2 separate regions of the Homo sapiens genome follow, and region 2 is linked to region 1. The links are contacts of gene promoters, found by promoter capture Hi-C in human tissues and cell types (Jung and others, 2019). All regions are on one chromosome and are shown on one strand. The core of a region is centred on a gene start or on the middle of the fragment in contact, and the rest is flanking DNA. Distances in the headings are between cores, read along the strand shown. Region 1 holds the start of MVB12B (multivesicular body subunit 12B). Region 2 has its middle 61 kb from the start of MVB12B.

What was found. The method cuts DNA at HindIII sites, captures the fragments that hold promoters and counts their contacts. A contact is called where the count stands out against the background at its distance.
Region 2: a contact is called between a fragment that was not itself captured here and the fragment with the promoter of MVB12B in region 1, in 1 of the 25 tissues and cell types used here (lymphoblastoid cells).

Annotation. Positions count from the first base shown.
Region 1 is chr9:126,325,325-126,328,228 of GRCh38, reverse strand. It overlaps MVB12B (multivesicular body subunit 12B), which reads right to left and starts at 1,400. Exons shown (of 10, transcript NM_033446.3): 1 at 1,219-1,400. The coding sequence starts at 1,299. RefSeq lists an enhancer at 183-834 and a silencer at 1,276-1,415. The HindIII fragment of the contact is 8,205 bases long and covers 1-2,904 here.
Region 2 is chr9:126,264,417-126,267,320 of GRCh38, reverse strand. No RefSeq gene overlaps it. Among named protein-coding and RNA genes, the nearest start is that of MVB12B, 61 kb to the left of the region's middle. The HindIII fragment of the contact is 5,437 bases long and covers 1-2,904 here.

The DNA.
Region 1 (2,904 bases), core at 151-2,650:
ATTTAAAGATTCTGAGCATGGTACAGTATCTCCAAGGACCCCACATGATTTCTAACAAGCAAGAAAGGTGTCACCATCTACTGTAACTAAACATCCTAGCACATTGAGTTTTTCAGTTAGTCAAGGCTTCACAGAGCTTATTTTTTAACTCTCTAAGCTTTCCTGGTGCCGCTGATAAGATTTCCCAGCCCTGTTAAAACGAGATGAGATCCAGCCAGCTGTCGAGAAATGTACAATGAGATTATACTGAGAAGGAACCACGAGAGACAAAGGCCCCTAAGAGGAGCTGGTCTGCTGTCTGCTTTTGTGGCAGCAATCGGAGTGGGCTCTGGTTCTTGGGTGGGGGCAGGAAGCAGGGAAGGGGCAACCACCATTTGCCTTTTGCCCTCCTGTGGTCTTCCTCAGTGCCTTGTGCAAGAGGTGTTGAGGGGCAGGGAACAGAAGAGTCTCATCTTTCATGGTGAGAAGGGCTGCTGATTTAGAACAGTTGTGTGTTGGTAACAAAGAGGACAAAAGATGCTCTTGGGTCTACCCCGTTCCCTGGTGCCTGCCTCTGAGGATGTGATGTCCCCTGGTGCCATGCCTCAGCTCTTGTCCCAGCCCCTGCTCCTCCCGTCTCGCTGGTGTTGGAGTCACTGTAGGGTGCTCGACGTGCCCACCATGTTCCTGGATGGGTGCTCTGGGTCTCGGGTACCCAGGCTGGGCATGTCACCTTCCAGACAGGTGCCTGAGGGTTTAGGTGTCCTCTCTGCTGTGCCCAGGTCACAGAGGCAGTGATGCTCCTGGGGCAGGTGCACGTTGGTCTGCACCCACGTGACCAGAGAGAGCAGGACCCCAGGCCAGGCCGGTCAAACGATTGACTGTTCCCAGTCTGTGCCCAGGTGGGCCGCCTCCCTCTCACGCGGGCAGAGGTGGCTCTCGGCGCCCCTCACCTGCCCGGGCCTTGGGGGCGCTGCTGGCACTCGGGTCCCCCAGCTTCTCCCGCCTCTCGCCGCCAGGCCGAGCCCGGGCACCGGCAGCCGCGGCGCGCTCGGGGCTCTGCAAAGGCCGCCCGGGCCTGTCCCCGCCGCGGGCCGGGCACGGAGCCCGCAGGCCTCGGCGCGGCCCGGCTCCTCCCGTCCGCCCGCCCCTCGGCCGGGGGCCCGCGCCCGCCCGCCCGCCCTCCCGGCTGCAGGGCCGGCTCCGCCGAGCCTCCGCGGCGCCCGGGCCTCACTTAACTGTTCCCCGCTGGGGCGGCGGCGGCGGTGGCTGCGGCGGCGGCGGGTCCCGGCTCCGTCTCACGCAGAAGCAGCTTCTCATCGCCCGGGCGGCGCGGGAGGGGCCGGGCCCGGGGCCCAGGCGGCAGGAGCCGGCGCCGCAGCTCGAGCGCGAGCCTCACCGAGAGCGGCGGCGGCGGCGGCGGCGGCGGAGGGGCGGGGCGCGGCCTGGCGGCGGCGGCGACAACGGCAGTGGCGGCGGCGGCTCCCTCCGCGGGCCGCGGCGGCGGGCCGGGCTCCGGGCCTCCCGGCGCTGGCGCTGGTTCAGGATCGGGGGAGGCGCCCGGCGCCCGAGGCTGGCTCGGGCGGGAGGAGGGAGAGGGAGCCCTGGCGTCCCGAGCCCGCGCCGCCGCCCCGGCCGGCACCCCGCCTCCCCAGCCTCCCCCTCGACCCAGCCCGTCAGCCGCAGGCAGGGCCCCGGTGCGCCCACCCGGGCCTCCCCGAGCCCGCCGGCGACCCCAGTCCAGCCTCAGGCCCCCGGGAGCCCACGGCCTCTAGAGCCTGGGGCATCGATGGTCCCCGCCCCCAGGCTGGTCTTTTCCAGGGACCCTCAGCCCACTTAGCTCTCGTAGGCCTCGCTGTACGCAAGACCGGTCTTCCGCTCGGCTGCAGATCCCTGGAAGCCCCCAGGCCCTCAGGCTAGAAGTTGGACCCTTCTAAGGACTCTCCGCCCACCCAGCCATTCTAGGCTTCACTGAACCCTAGAATCCTTCAGCTCATCTTCCCCCACCCCCCAGCTCACCTAAGGTGAGCTCAGCCAGTCGTCTCAAACTAACCCCAATTGCCTAGCAATTCTCTTATATTAGTTAGATGATTTATCCCCAGAAGCCTAGAATCAGGTTTATGGGGCCAGCCTCAGGCAAGCATCTAGAAGAAGTTTTTAGCAGGAGTCCTACCCTGCAGTACTTGGGGAAGGCATAAGCCAAGGATAAAATGGAGCTGGATGGTTGGGGGAGGGTCCAGAGCTTGACCCTCAGCTAGAGTGGCTGGTAGGAAAGGCGGACTCTGCGCCTTAACCAACCATGCCCCCCACACCGCCCAGCCAGGCACCCCAGGCAGAGGCCAGCGTGTGCAAGATTTGAAAGGTTTCCTGCCAGGAGGCTGGAGCATTCGTTAGGACTTGAGGACCATGCAGGAGTGATCAGCATTGATTTGCTAATGCATTGAGTCTCATTTTCACACATTCTAGGCTTTTCCATAATAGCTGTTTGATCCTAAAGAGAAGGGTGCCAAGCAGAATGGGCTGTCGGGGGAAACATCCTGTAGGGAAGCCATGCACGTGTGCATTCCCAGTGTCTTCACTACTCAGAAATGCCATGGGTTCAGATGGCTTTACAGCAAGCCTTATCCTCCCATCAGGGCACAGATCATCCCTATGTTACTTAAACTGTTACACAGGAAAAAATAAACAAAAGAAACAAAAATTTTTATTTCATTTCCCAAGTTTAGCATAACCCTGATACCAAAATCCAACAGACAATACCAAAAAGAACTGCAGATGACTAACCTAGAACACGAGTCCCCAGAGAATTTAATATTTATTTTTTGAAAATGGGCTTCTGTGGGCAACTTGAGAAAGTGCTGCATGCCGTTTATAGTGTACCTTTTGGAGAATCACGATAAGTATTCGTATATTAAGGAAGGCCTC
Region 2 (2,904 bases), core at 128-2,627, 61 kb after region 1:
TACAGCCAAGTTTAAGGACAGGTCCTTGCTCCTCAAAGGTTGGCCCACAAACATCACTCTCGTTACCTTGTTAGAAATGCAGAATCTGCCGGGCACGGTGGCTCACGCCTGTAATCCCAGCACTTTAGGAGGCCGAAGTGGGTGGATTGCCCTAGGTCAGGAGTTCAAGACCAGCCTGGCCAACATGGTGAAACCCTGTCTCTACTAAAAATACAAAAATTAGCTGGGCGCGATGGCAAGCGCCTGTAATCCCAGCTACTTGGGAGGCTGAGTCATGAGAATCATTGAACCCAGGAGGCAGAGGTTGCAGTAAGCCGAGATCACGTTATTGCACTCCAGCCTGGCCGACAGAGTAAGACTCTGTCTTAAAAAAGACGCGGAATCTTAGGTCTTACACCAGCCCACTGAATTAGAATCTGCTTTTTATCAACATCCCTCGGGATCTGTGTGCACATGGACACGCGAGAAGCACTGCTCTAGAAGGAAGGCTTCTTAGCCTTAAGCAGTTTCAGAGCAGGAGGCATCGGCAACAGGACTGGGGTAGGGTTTTGAGAACACCAGCTCCAAGTCATGATGGAGGCTGTGTCATTAGATAGAGCCCACGTCCAGTTCATCACTGAAGTTCCAGAAACGGCAGCTTCTATGGGACAGCACTGGAGGGAAGGAAGGTTACTGCAGATAAATCCTGCCAATGGTTAGCAGTGGAAAGAGGGATAGTGACACAGAAGACTTGAGTTTTTGTTTTCAGTGTTTCTGTACCATTTGTATTTCCTAGCCCTGTGTGTGTGCATGCATGTGCACACACAATAGGGGTTAGCAAAGATTATGTTGATGGTGAGATTATGGGATATTCTTTAACATTTTCTTTATTAAAAAAATCTAACAAATGGTAATTTTTAAAAAGCAATATACAAGCAAAAGCTATGAGAAATAACAAGATGAATTTGGCAAAGTCACAATCTTAATAGGGTACCTTAATATTATTGCATTGCTTAGTCTTTGTCAAATCAAGTAGGCAAAAAGAAATAAAAATATGAGAGATATGAATAATTTCATTAATAAGGTTATTTACTAGATACATTTCAAAATCGGCAATCTACAAATATAGAATATATAATCTTAACACGTTCCAGTTAGCATTTTAAAAAAAAGTAATCATTTTTCTAACCCACAAAGGAAATGTTAATAACTTTCAAAAGATAGGAAGTTTAAGCCACAAGAGAGCAGAGAACATATCTGTCTCATCACAACTCGGTCCTCAGAGTCCAGTACAGTGGCTATACAATTGAGTAGGTTCTCAATTAGCATTTATTGCTGGGAGAAGGCTGTATTTTCTTGCATGCAATAAAACAAAAAATTCATAACAGAAGTGTAAGCAAATAAAAAGCTTAAAGCATTTGGAAAATAAAATAAATTCTTTCAAAATAGCCTTTAAAATCAATGAGATATCAATTGCAACTCGATATGATTTTTCATGGAATTTTACAAGCTGGTTCTAAAATTAATATGGAAGAACAAATGTACATGAATTGACCAGAGGAATATTTAAAAGAATCTATTTTTGTTCTATAAGAGTCATAATTTTATAAAATAATAGGAATTAAAAGGGTGTGATATTGGTGCTGGAGAAGGCAATTAAATGAACAGAACTGAGTAGAGTTCAGATATACCGTGTTCACTGATTTATGAATTTAAATAAGATACAATGCCAAATGCTTGAGTAAACTATGTAGTGTTCAATAAATGATATTGGAAAAATTGTATACTATTTGGAAAAAATAAAATTAGATCCTACCTCACACTATCCATAAGAAAAAGTTCAATAAATTAAAATCCTAAGAGCAAAATGTAAAACAATTGTATTAGAAGAAATGTAGGAGATGTAGGAGACTTTAATATCAACTTGGGGCACAGGCAGCTTCTTAGATAAGGCACAGAAACCAAAAGCCATAAACGCAAAGTTTAATAAATTTGACTACACTATAAGTCATAATTCTGCATGATAAATGACACTACAAAAGATTTTGAAAAATGACAAGTGTGCCAAAAATATTGACAACCTATTTAAGAGACAAAGGACTAGGATCAAGATGAAAGGACTCTTACAAATCAGTGAGAAAAAAAATCCAGCAATCTAATAGAAAATGGACAAAGGATGTGGATAGGCAATCCACAGAAAAGGAAATTAATAATGGTCACTAATCCTATTTTAAAAGATGCTTCATTTTACTAATAATCAGGGAACTTGCTGCAAAGTAAAATAAAGAGATACTATTCTTCACTCATTACCTTAGCAATTTTTTTAAGTTTGAATATAATAAGTGTTGGCAAGATGGGGGTAATACATTCATACATTATAAGAGCAATATAAAGTTTGTATAAAATGTACTCAAAATGGCATTCCCACTTTCAAGGGCATTTGGGCAGGACTGAGATGAAAAACTGTACACTGTGTAACACAATTCCATGTCTTTGCTACCTTAGAGCAAGAAACATTGTCAAACATTCCTAAGGCAGCTTGTACATGCTGTCTGCTGCAGCATTCTCTATAATAGCAAAACTTGGAAATAATCTAAGTGTCCATCAAACAGAATGTGATTCAATAAACTATTTTAAATCCGTACTATGCAATACACTGTAATCATTAAAATGAATCAGATTGATATATAGATATTGACAAGAAAAGATGCTTATTACCGATGGAAAAAAGAAAGATGCAGGAAAGTATATACAGTAGAATGTATGTTTAAAAAAATTTCCTTCTCTAAGCTCATCTATATGAATGCCTAGAAAATCTTGCCATGCCATTCAATATAGCAAATAGCAAACTGAGATGACGTGGTACCCCTTTTTCTGTCACCTAGAATCCTCCTAGAAATCCTGGATCAAATATTCCATAATGCT